Regions from separate parts of the Homo sapiens genome. Here all the other regions are linked to region 3. The links are contacts of gene promoters, found by promoter capture Hi-C in blood cells and fetal thymus (Javierre and others, 2016). All regions are on one chromosome and are shown on one strand. Each heading gives the region's core, a stretch centred on a gene start or on the middle of the fragment in contact. The rest is flanking DNA. Distances are from core to core; before and after follow the strand shown.

What was found. The method cuts DNA at HindIII sites, captures the fragments that hold promoters and counts their contacts. A CHiCAGO score of 5 or more calls a contact.
Region 1: a fragment that was not itself captured here is called in contact with the fragment with the promoter of KRT37 in region 3 in 3 of 17 cell types (total CD4 T cells, naive CD8 T cells and naive CD4 T cells); the score reaches 6.6 in total CD4 T cells.
Region 2: a contact is called between a fragment that was not itself captured here and the fragment with the promoter of KRT37 in region 3, in 10 of 17 cell types (total B cells, total CD4 T cells, activated CD4 T cells and 7 more). The highest score is 7.1, in total B cells.

The regions. Positions count from the first base shown.
Region 1 is chr17:41,106,703-41,110,995 of GRCh38, reverse strand. It overlaps LOC124904002 (a long non-coding RNA gene), which reads right to left and starts at 2,764. Exons shown (of 2, transcript XR_007065754.1): 1 at 2,617-2,764; 2 at 1-992. The HindIII fragment of the contact is 4,149 bases long and covers 1-3,618 here.
Region 2 is chr17:40,978,466-40,982,519 of GRCh38, reverse strand. KRT40 (keratin 40) reads left to right here. Exons shown (of 7, transcript NM_001389244.1): 3 at 57-213; 4 at 1,369-1,530; 5 at 1,610-1,735; 6 at 3,496-3,716. LOC107985072 (a long non-coding RNA gene) reads right to left here. Exons shown (of 4, transcript XR_001752886.2): 3 at 1,913-2,071; 4 at 1-192. Among named protein-coding and RNA genes, the nearest start is that of KRT40, 3.8 kb to the left of the region's middle. RefSeq lists an enhancer at 1,913-2,514. The HindIII fragment of the contact is 2,975 bases long and covers 1-2,893 here.
Region 3 is chr17:41,422,478-41,426,599 of GRCh38, reverse strand. KRT37 (keratin 37) reads left to right here and starts at 2,015. Exons shown (of 7, transcript NM_003770.5): 1 at 2,015-2,568; 2 at 2,756-2,838; 3 at 3,666-3,822. The coding sequence starts at 2,077. The HindIII fragment of the contact is 11,234 bases long and covers 1-4,122 here.

The DNA.
Region 1 (4,293 bases), core at 295-2,794, 320 kb after region 3:
ACAGTTTTGTAACTCCATGGCAAATTTTGACACCTTATGGTATTTGACAGGGATAAGCATGAAATTGCTTGATTAATAAATGCAAACAAAAATGCATGCTGGCAATTTTTAAGACATGTCTAATATTACTTTACCAATAATTTTAAAGCTAGCTTATTTATTAAAGATTTTACTTGTTACATAAACTTCAGAAAGCATTCAACTAGTCTTTTCTTTTTTCCTGATAAAGTATTAGATTCAAGTGCTTTTTATCTTAAGCCAATTAATTAGAACTCTTTTATATATTTTCAGTAGCGAGAAATTGTGTACACATCACATAAATATATAGACATAGTAGGCATGCTGATAGAAGTACATCGTATAGATACTTAAGGAGCTTTTTTCCCCTATCTTAGGCTTTCAAATTCTTAATAACCTGTTTTACTCCCCTAGGGAGTTGTCAGCTAAATAGCCTTAAGTTTGCATGTTAAAGGAAACAACTCAGGCAAAAATCAAATAGCAAAATTATATCATAAGGTACAGAGAGAAAAAGTCTGGTGGTGCTAGAGGGAAGTCAAAATGGATTTAATTGCCAATTAAACATAAAATTATAAAAATTATAAAGGCCTTTTAAATAGATACACACACACACACACACACACACACAAACACACACACAGAAATCCTATAGCTTTTACTTCAGAACTTTAGCCATGAGACAAATACAAATTCACCAGGTTGCAAACAAAAAGCCTGTTGTATCCAAACAGTGGTTTTGATCTTAATAGAAAAATAACAGCAGATTTAAAGCAGGCAGAAAAGAAAATAGAGAAAAAAGAGAACTTAGGAACTCTGTAGTTTGTAGGTTGACCTTAAGGCTCTTCTTTTCTTTCTTTTTCTTTTCTTTCTTTCTTTCTTTCTTTCTTTCTTTCTTTCTTTCTTTCTTTCTTTCTTTCTTTCTTGCTTGCTTGCTTTCTTGCTTGCTTGCTTTCTTTCCTTCTTTTCTTTCTCTTCTAAAAAAAAATGAAATACACATGCAGGAGAACGTGCAGGTTTGTTACATAGGTATATGTGTGCCTTGGTGGTTTGCTGCACCTATTGACCCATCCTCTAAATTCCCTCCTCTCATTCCCCACCCCCCAACAGCCCCTGATATGTGTTGCTCTCCTCTCTGTGTCCATGTGTTCTCAAAGTTCAACTCCCATATATGAGTGAGAACATGTTGTATTTGGTATTCTGTTTCTGTGTTAGTTTGCTGAGGATGATGGTTTCCAGCTTCATCCATGTCCCTACAAAGGACATGATCTCACTCCGTTTTATGGCTGCATCGTATTCCATGGTGTATATGTACCACATTTTCTTTATCAAGTCTATAATTGATGGGCGTTTGGGTTAGTTCCATGTCTTTGCTCTTGTAAATAGTGCTGCAATAAACATACATGTGCCTGTGTCTTTATAGTAGAATGATTTGTATTCCTTTGGGTATATAACAAGTAATGGGATTGCTGGATCAAATGGTATTTCTGATTCTAGATCCTTGAGGAATCACCATACTGTCTTCCACAATGGTTGAACTAATTTACATGGGCCCTTTCTTTCTTAATGTAAATATGCACAAAGACCATATTACTTCCATTTTACTTAAACTCTGGCAAGTACAGGTGCCATAAAACCTATGGAGTGCTTGAAAGGGAATCATTCTCTTTGCTTTCTCCTCATTCTTAGATTATTTGTTTCCCAGTTTTCTTCTTAAAAAGAGGAACTGAGCTGAGGCCTAGAGGTTTTCTGTGGTGGATCAATATGTGCCATTTGTGGGCAGGACTCCACAGTGGGTCACCACTGAAAACAACAGTTCAGTTCCTCATGCAAATGCACACAGACAAGCTGAATTGAGCTTAATTTGGGGAGAAAAAGCAACAGAGAAGATCCTTTAGAATGCATTTGTGAACTAGAATTAGGATCTTTAAACGACAAATTCCTAGAAGGAAAACAAAACAACAGCCAAGACCACTTTTTGTAAACCTTGCTCAGCCACCCCTTAACTTTGTAGCTCTCATCTACCACTATACACAACAAGGTCAAAGCCAAAGAGGTCAGGTCATGCAATACAGGAAAATAGAGGTTTAGAGTTAAGAAGAATCTACCCATGACTCTTGAAACTCCACAAAGAAAACAAAACACCCCAAAAGGGGTGAGTGGCAACCTTTGTTCTGAATTCTTTAAGGGGGTTCAAGTCATTAGAAGCCTTCTCTAGACTTTTTGGTACTGCATATGGCAAAGGGGGAGGAGGTATATGGTGCAAGAAAAGTAAACGAAAGAACATTCGTGTTTTAAGACAGGAAGCAAACACAGAAACCAAGTGCATGGGTTTTTGGTTCTTTTTGTTTGTTTTCTTCTTTTGCAGCTGCAATGAATTTTAGCCAAATTAGAGAGGTTTTGTTACCCGTAATTTTGAATTCTCACTTGGATTTGACCAAGTCAGGTAGAGTTGGTCAAGTCTGATGGGAGAAAGACCAAAACAAACAACAAAATCTCCAACCATAGGATTACCAAGCACTCTAATGATAAGGAGAAATTAAGAGCAGCTAGCTGGTTGTTAAACTTTAGCCCAGACAAAGCCCCAGTTCAGCTACTTACCTAGGGATGGGTCTCAGGCTGAAGGCTGCTTTCTACCACCCTAGAAGCAGGAAAAAAACTCAAACTGGTCTTCCCTGCTGGGAGTGAGCTCAAACTCTACATGCCTTTCATCATCATGGAAGCAGGAAATCTTGCCTTCCTTGTAAAGGAAGTAAAAGTAAATCTTGCCTTCCTTATAAGGAAGGCAAGTAAGCAAGTAAAACTCCAAAAACAAAAATAGGTGGGGCAGTTGTACAGCAAAATGAACTTTAGTTCTTCACCAAATTTGGGGAGATCAGGGATTCTTTGGGGAGGGTGCTCCCAGACCTCAGCAAATTGTCCTATTGATTTGAGCCATAAAGTTAGCTCATGCTATTACCAGGCACCAACAGGATATTCGTCAAAGGTCAAGGGCATCTCCACTCAGAATCCTTTCACAGTTACCAAAATGTTAACCCAGAAAATCTGAGACAGGTCTCAGTTAATTGAGAAAGTTTATTTTGCTAAGGTTGAGGATGCTCCGGTGACACAGCCTCAGGAAGTCCTGATGACATGTGTGTAAGGTGGTCAGATAACACTTTTGTTTTATACATTTTAGGGAGACATGAGATATCAATCAACATATGTAAGATGAACACGGATTTGGTCCAGAAAAGGCAAGACAACTCGAAGCAAAGGCGGGACAACTCGAAGCTGGGAGGGGGCTTCCAGATCATAGGTATATAAGAGACAAATGGTTGCCTTCTTTTGAGTTTCTGATTAGCCTTTCCCAAGGAGGCAATCAGTGCATTTATCTCAGTGAGCAGAGGGGTGACTTTGAATAGAATGAGAGGCAAGTTTGTCCTAAGCAGTTCCGAGTTTGCCTTTTCCCTTTAGCTTAGTGATTTGGGGGCCCCAATATTTATTTTACTTTCACAGCCTCCTAACCTTATTTATCCTGCCTCATGTTTAAGAAGGCATCATAACTCTATGACTGAGATCTGGACAACATTTTTCTTAAGGCATCTGAAAAAATATGAAGCTTATTTTTCATATTTGAACATATCTGAACAAATCATCTTAAACTTGATTGGCTCAATAGCTTAAGGCCATTTCAGAGCTGATAATAGTCAAATAAAAGTAAAAACATCAAGAGCAGGTGCTCCTACTAGAATGCCAAGTTATAGTCACTTACCATATTCTTTCAGATTCAAATGAAGGCACCTCTCTTGGAAATTCTAATTAGGATATGCACCCCAGCTGCGACCTACTCAAGACTGAACTAATTCCAATAAAATAATTCTTAAAAAGAAAAGCGAGCCTTGAAATTTTCATCCTTTCTGGGTTTATATATATTAAAATGTTAAGTGTGGAGTTGTTTAAATTATAATGTAAACCCGTAGAGACCACAGTCAGCAATATACCATGCTATCCAGATGAACTACAGCTCAATATGCTTTTTTGTCTCAGCAGAACTCACTGGGAAATAAAGCCCACTTTTTGATTATAAATTCCAAAATGTTGTTATTGAGTAAAATGAATTCAGTACATGAAATTCTTTATAGAAGATTTCCCTTCTTTCATTGGTGTCTAATTTTCAGAAATTTGGTTTTATCTTTTTTGTCAAAACAGGGACGATAGTATTATGAGATATAATGTGTTAAAGATAAAATGTGTTTCAAGAGCTAAGGTATGAATTAAAACTGTCTTAATTTAGGA
Region 2 (4,054 bases), core at 157-2,656, 440 kb after region 3:
ACACTTTGCACAGCGTTCAGCAAAGTAAGCGTTGGATTTCTCTTTTGCTGTGAAAGGTACGAGAGTGAACTGTCCCTTCGCCAGCTGTTAGAGGCTGACATCAGCAGCCTGCATGGGATCCTGGAGGAACTGACCCTGTGCAAATCTGATCTGGAGGCCCATGTGGAGTCTCTGAAGGAAGATCTCCTTTGCCTTAAGAAAAACCATGAAGAGGTAAGGAAAGTGGCAACTCCGCTGAAGGACTCCGAGAGTAACGTACTTACATTGACAGATGATCTGTTGATGTTTGTAAATCGAATTTGGGCAGATGTTGTTTAAGCTGGAATAAAACTACTTGAGGCAGGGCCAGGCATGGTGGCTCACACCTGTAATCCAAGCACTTTGGGAGGCTGAGGCAGGAGGATCACAAGGTCAGGAGTTCGAGACCAGCCTGACCAATATGATGAAACCTCATCTCTACTAAAAATACAAAAATTAGCTGGGCATGGTGGCAGGCGCCTGTAGTCCTAGCTACTCGGGAGGCTGAGGCAGGAGAATCACTTGAACTCAGGAGGCGGAGGTTGCAGTGAGCCGAGATCTTACCACTGCACTCCAGCCTGGGTGACAGGGCGAGACTCCATCTCAAAAAACAAACAAACAAACAAACAAACAAAAACTACTCGAGGCATTATTACTATTCAACCTGATCATTCCAGTGTGTCTCTGATTTAAGGTGTGAAATAACCCCTAGACAGCGCCAGAGGAAGGAATCAAACTCTTCTCCTGCCCTTGCCTTTGTGGAGGAGGTAACTTCACAAATGGCTTCCTTTGGAGGCTTTATGCCACCCCTAGCTCCAGTCCACAGGGTATGAAAATCAGGCTGAGGAACAGACTGTGAAGTCCATTTCAAAAAAGGGATAAAGACTGTGCACTATCTGGACCAGTGTTTTTAAATATTCCGCATTTATAAACTTCTAAAAATCATAAAATATACAGCCACTGATATATTGATAAAGCTAGAAAATGAAAAGCTGAATGATGTAACAAAGTACATTTGCTCTTTGAACGTTTGTTGATGACAATCATAGCTAACATTTATTGACACCTTACTATGTGTCATAATTAACTTTTATAAGTTAATTATGTGTAGATTGACTCTTCTAGATCTCACAATAACTTTCTGGAAAAATGTCCAATTATTATGTCCATTTTACAGACGAAGAAACTGAGGCCCTTCTAAGTGGTGAAAAGAGATTCAGCCCAGGCAATCTGAATCAAAATCTCACACTTTTACCCACTGCTCCAAAAAACAGAAGTAGAATGCCATTGGATGTCAAATGGATTTTTCCCCACCATTCTGTGACATTCTTTACACCATCCCACTTTCAGGAAGTCAACTTGCTTCGTGAACAGCTTGGCGACCGCCTCAGTGTGGAGCTGGACACTGCCCCCACCCTTGACCTCAACAGGGTCCTGGATGAGATGCGCTGTCAGTGTGAAACGGTGCTTGCCAACAATCGCAGAGAAGCTGAAGAATGGTTGGCTGTTCAGGTCAGTACCCAGATTGAAAAAATGTCAGGCTTACAGACTTCTGCCTTTTTTGAATTCTCTAATGGTGTCTGTGTTTCAGACAGAAGAGCTGAATCAGCAGCAACTGTCCAGCGCGGAGCAGCTGCAGGGCTGCCAGATGGAGATCTTGGAACTGAAACGCACAGCCAGTGCTCTGGAAATTGAGCTCCAAGCACAGCAAAGCCTGGTGCGTGAGGCAAAGGCAGTGTCCGTTGTGTCACTGATAAGTCAGGCCCTGAGATGTTAAGCCCTCTTCCATATCCGAGGATCACATTTCCTTGCCTTTCCCGAGTACTGCCGTTTACCCAGCTATTAATAGAAGCAGAAGTGACAGGTCCACAGCTTGTCCTCTAAGATGCCTTACCTTCACTCCTGGGCTTGAGTCTGATGCTGCAGCAGCCTCCAGAGACAGGGAGGGAGAAGCAGAGCTGGAGAGAAACCTCCGGGCCATGGTCGCTTAAGCATTCTGGCAGGTTTTAATTCTCATTTGATTCAGGCCAGTTTTCCAGGCTCACTGTTATATCTAAAACAAAGAATCATTTTCAAACATTTCATCCTACAGTTTCCCAGGATCTACACTTCAACCTTATCCTTCACTGCACCACCCCCCACTCAAGCAACAGGAACACCATGCGTTCAAGATGACATGAACCAGTTCTGGTCAAGCACCACTGTGTGCATGTCATTAGGCCCTGCGGAGAACACCTAGAAGAACAATAGCTGAGCATTCATCCTGTGAGAGGCACTATGCTGATTTAAGGCTCACAGTAACTTTACCGGATAGATACCTTTATCCCATGACACAGATAAGGAAAACTGAGACTCAGATTAAGTAACTTGCAAAGGATGCAATTCTAAGAGGCAAACTTGGAAGCTGAGTTCAGCCAGTTGAATCCCAGAGTCTCTTCTCTCTCTCTTTTTAAATTTATTTTTATTGATATATAATATGCGTAAATTTTTTTTACGTAGATGTGATATTTTGTTACATGCATAGAATGTGTAATGATCAAGTCAGGATATTTAGAGCATCCATCACCTCAAGTATTTATCATTTCTATGTGTTGGGAGCATTTCAAGTCCTCCCATCTAGCTATTTTGAAATGCACAGTGTATTGTTGTTAACTGTAGTCACACTTCTCTGCTGTCCAACATGAAAACATATTCTTTCTGTCTAACTGTATGTTTGCACCCATTAACCAACCTCTCTTCATCCCCTTACCACACATATGCCAGTCCCAGCCTCTGGTATCCAGAGCCTCTTCTCTTAATAGCACTATACTACCCCTCCCTGCCAAGAGCCCAAACTCAATCTTTCCTCTCATATGTTGTGGATAGTCCTTAAGCTTCACAAATATGTCATGTATTGCTGTAGTCATAGTGGTGGTAGTGATAGTTGACACGTAGAACAGTGGCAGTATGGCTGGCACTGTTCTAAATGCTTTACGCACATTAACTCTTTTTTTTTTTTTTTGGACGGAGTCTCCCTCTGTCGCCCAGGCTGGAGTGCAATGGCATGATCTTGACTTACTGCAAGCTTTGCCTCCCGGGTTCACACCATTCTCCTGAGTAGCTGGGACTACAGGCGTCCACCACCGTACCCAGCTAATTTTTTATATTTTTAGTAGAGACGGGGTTTCACCGTGTTAGCCAGGATGGTCTCGATCTTCTGACCTTGTGATCCGCCCGCCTCGGCCTCCCAAAGTGCTGGGATTACAGGCCTGAGCCACCGCGCCCAGCCCGCATATTAACTCTTAATCTTCACAACCGTCTAATGAAACAGATACTTTGTATTCTCCACTATACAGAGAATAAAACTGAGACTCACAGAAGCTAAATAATTTGCCAGTGGTCACATAGCTAGAAAAGGGTAAGCAGGAATTTGAAAGTAGGCACTCTGGCCCGAGAGACTGCACTTCATGGTCCTTTGGACAATGTTTCCTCCCGCAGACAGAATCTCTGGAATGCACCGTGGCAGAAACCGAGGCCCAGTACAGCTCCCAGCTGGCCCAAATTCAGTGTCTGATCGATAACCTGGAGAACCAGCTGGCCGAGATCCGCTGCGACCTGGAGCGACAGAACCAGGAGTACCAGGTGCTCCTGGACGTGAAGGCCCGGCTGGAGGGTGAGATCAACACGTACTGGGGCCTGCTGGACAGCGAGGACAGCAGGCAAGTTCCACAGTTACTCATGAAATCCCCCAGAGTCACAAAGAGGCTGATGTAAAAGAATCCTGTTTCCCCAAAGTCTGGACAAGTTCAGACCTCCCCAGTGTGTTTAGGGATCTTCTTAAAAAAGTGCTGAAAAGTGGCTGAGGTTAAGAACATGACACTAGAGATATTTTTAAAATATTCTAAAGGCAGATTAATTATTAGTGTAACATTTCATGCTGGCATCTCCCTTTGTTCCTGTTTTCCACTAAAGGAAAATCAGGAATAGGCCTAAGATAACATTTGCAAAATCAAGAAAAAATATAAAATACTATTCAACTGCCACTGCTACAGTGAAC
Region 3 (4,122 bases), core at 766-3,265:
GGATTTGGGATATACAGTCAGAATGTTTCTGTCAACGACAGACCACATATACGGGCGGTGGTCCCACAAGATTATAATGATGCTGAAAATTCCTATTCTCTAGTGATGTGGAAGTGGTTATAATGTCGTAGTGCAATGCATTACCTTTTCTATGTTTAGATACACAAATATTATCGTGTTAATAATAGTTGCCTATGATACTCAGTACAGCAACATGCTGTACAGGTTTGTAGCCAGGTGCTATAGGCTGTGCTATACAGTCTAGGTGTGTAGTAGGCTCTACCATCTAGGTTTGTGTGAGTTCCCCCTATAATGTTTCCACAGTGAAGAAATCTCTTAACGACGCATTTCTCAGGACGCACCCTGTCTTAAATGATGCATATGTTACAAACTAGCGTAACTTTTTTTTTCTTTTTTGAGACAAAGTGTCAATCTTGTTGCTCAGGCTGGAGTGCAATGGCGCAATCTTGGCTCACGGAAACCTCCGCCTCCCGGGTTCAAGCAATTCTCCTCCTCAGCCTCCTGAGTAGCTGGGATTACAGGCATGTACCACCATGCCCGGCTAATTTTATATTTTTAGTAGAGACCGGTTTTCTCCATGTTGTTCATGCTGGTCTCGAACTCCTGACCTCAGGTGATCCGCCTGCCTTGGCCTCCCAAAGTACAGGGATTACAGGCGTGAGCCACCGCGCCCGGCCTAGTTTAACTTTTTAAAGTGCATTTTCTTGTTGTCACTGCCATAGTATTTAAATCTTTTCCTTTGCTGGAACACAAAGACCTTCAGTAATTTTCTTTTCACCACAATTTCTCATCCAGTAACTAAGCCCCTTCTTGCCCTCTCCTTAGGCCCAGCACTGACGGGGCAATGACACCGTTGTTCTCACCGGGGGCCATGATGAAGTGAAAAGAGAATGGGCCTAGCAGACATGAGACTGAATCGAGCCTTTGCCAGTTCACTAACTGTCAATCAGAAAATGTGCAAATGTACTTCACTCTAGTTTTCTCATCTGTACATTGAGGCAATGAGTAACCACCTCATAGGTGGTAAGGGTTAGATAGGAAAGAACACAGTAGAATGCCTAGCACACCTAAGTACTCAATCAATGTTAGTTCTGGACCTTTCATTTGAATACTGCTTGAGCTCTGTGCCCAATCTCCCTTTCCTGGATCAAATAAGATTTTTCTTTGTTAGTGATTTCTTTCTAGATACTTCCTTGGCCAGAACTATAGATCCTCTGTCTTTCACTAACTCTTGTTGATCTATGGTTCTCATTCAAGTTTGTGTAGAACATCCAGAGATTTCAGAGGCATTGTTTACTCCTGATGAACAGGGAACATTGCGTGTCCAGGAACCAGCACACTGCCTGAGTTATGGGGGATATTCAGGAAGCATGCTGAACCAATGAATGAATGAACAAATGAATGAATAGCTGATTCTGACTAGTCAACCAAAACTTAATTAGCGCCATTGCTTCCAGATGTTATTGCTTCTCAAGGGAGTATGCAATGTGAAAGAAGAAAGAAAAAAAGGCGCCTCTCAATCGTCAAATATCAGTAGATGCATTGGTTTTATTAACTGATATTTTCTCTTCAAAGGAAAGGCTGATTCAGTCTTGCACAGGCGAAAGATCCAGTGGGTCCCATTGGTTCTCTGTGTCTCCTGCTACACAAATTACTGACGGAAAGATTTGAGCCTTCATTGTGACCACATCCACAGAGACCATAGTCCAGAGAGAGCAATTGGGGCCTGAATCAACTGCTGGTGTTTGTTGAGCAGAAACAGTGAGTCTCTGACTTCCCACCAACAGCTAACCTGATATGGAAGAGCCAAGAGGCATCTCAGATTTGTCAACATTGCTTTAATGAGCTGAGGAACTTCTCATGGTAAACTCAGCAGCTGAGTAACAGGATGATGGCACCACAACAGGTAGATAATCAAGGCAGGAGGTCAAAGCACTGGAGCCAACACCCGCCCAGGATGGGGTATAAAAGGGTTGGGAGGAGAGGAGGCTTCAGTCTCAGTGGCTCAGCCTTCCCAGCTGATCTGAAGCTCCTGTGCAGCCTCAGCCCTACACCATGACCTCCTTCTACAGCACCTCCTCATGCCCTCTGGGTTGCACCATGGCTCCTGGAGCAAGAAATGTCTTTGTCTCTCCTATCGATGTTGGGTGCCAGCCTGTGGCAGAGGCCAATGCTGCCTCCATGTGCCTCTTGGCCAACGTGGCACACGCCAACAGAGTCCGTGTGGGGTCGACTCCCCTGGGCCGCCCCAGCCTCTGTCTGCCCCCAACCAGTCACACTGCTTGTCCCTTGCCAGGGACCTGTCACATTCCCGGCAACATCGGAATCTGTGGGGCCTACGGCAAAAACACCCTGAATGGCCATGAGAAGGAGACCATGAAGTTCCTGAATGACCGCCTGGCCAACTACCTGGAGAAGGTGCGCCAGCTGGAGCAGGAGAATGCAGAGCTGGAGACCACACTCCTCGAGAGGAGCAAGTGCCACGAGTCCACCGTGTGCCCCGACTACCAGTCCTACTTCCGTACAATCGAGGAGCTCCAGCAGAAGGTGAGGTGTGGGATCGCCTGGGCATGCTGGGTCTGAGAAGGCAGAAGCCTTCGCAGGAGGAATCTGCATAAGGTCCAGAGAGCTTTGGGTTCTTGGTTTCTCTTGGACATGAGCGTAAATACCACACATGGAGTGGGAGCTTAGAGTATGGTGCTTTGTGTGTGAACCGTCTTTCCGTTTTCCTCAGATCCTGTGCAGCAAGGCTGAGAATGCCAGGCTGATTGTACAAATTGACAACGCGAAGCTGGCTGCTGATGACTTTAGGATCAAGTAAGTCAGGATGAGGAGGGTCAGTGTGACTTCTCTCCTGCTGTATTTCCAAGGGCCCGCCCCATTACTCAGTCTATATTGTAGGTGTTCAAAAACAGTTTTTGACTAGAAGAATATTTCTCTCCACACCTTAAATTAGCCTGTTGCTAGAAATGGTCATTATATAGGAGGAAAGAGAATATAAGCATTGAAAGAAAAAGAAGGGCTGTAGTCTAGATTGGTTAGAACCTATGTCACTTTCTCCCATATCTAGAAGATAAGAGGATTTTGCTTTTCAATCAGAAGTAAAATTGAGTCATCACAAAAATAAACTGTCAATGCATAGGTTGTTGCTAGACTCTCTGACTCTTGGCCAAATCCATCAGCTGGAGGAATTGTCATTGAAGCTCCTTGGTAGCTAGAGTTGTGCTTGAATGAAGGGGAAAAGCAAGAAAACAACGAGAAATAATGAATCCAAGAGGAAAAGCAGCAAACTGAAGGTCCAGAGGCTTATTTTTAGCCATTCTTTTTCCTGGCCAAATGACTCCTATTATGGCAGAATAAATGCTGCATTTGAAGTCAGAACACTTAGGATGAGTCCATGCATTTACTATTAACTGGGCATGGAATTCTGAACAACTCGTGTTTTGTTTCTGAGCCTCAGTCTTCCATCTGGTCAATGGGCATAATGTCCTGACTACAAACCGTGTCGCTGCAGGGTTGAGAATAGTGTATACTGCCCACGTGAACAAATAAGGATCCAAGGTGGTGTGGGAGGTAGGAAGCCAGGGCAGCTGAGAGGGGCTATTGGGGCATTCTTTTTGACCCTGTGCCTCCTGTGACGGAAGGCTGGAGAGTGAGCGCTCCCTTCACCAGCTGGTGGAGGCGGACAAGTGCGGGACGCAGAAGCTCCTGGATGACGCGACCCTGGCCAAGGCCGACCTGGAGGCCCAGCAGGAGTCCCTGAAGGAGGAGCAGCTCTCCCTCAAGAGCAACCACGAGCAGGTGTGGCCCTGGCTGCTCAGACTCCTGGGGAGGGCGCTGGGCAGACAGGGGAGCTCCCCGGCCCTGGGGCTCTCAGAGCATTGCCTGGGCTCAGCTGGCCTAAGGATGCAGGGCTGAGGTGGGTCTGAGGGTCCAGAGGGCCTCTGTGGAAAGTGCAGACTTGCCTTGGGCATGAGGAAGGTGTCCAGGTGGGCTCTCCCAAATGCACTCTGGACAAGACTTTCCCATTTGCTTATGTGTGGGACTCCCCTCCTACTGCTTGCCAGGGACGGAGTCCTGGTGCTGTCTGCTCCATCAAAG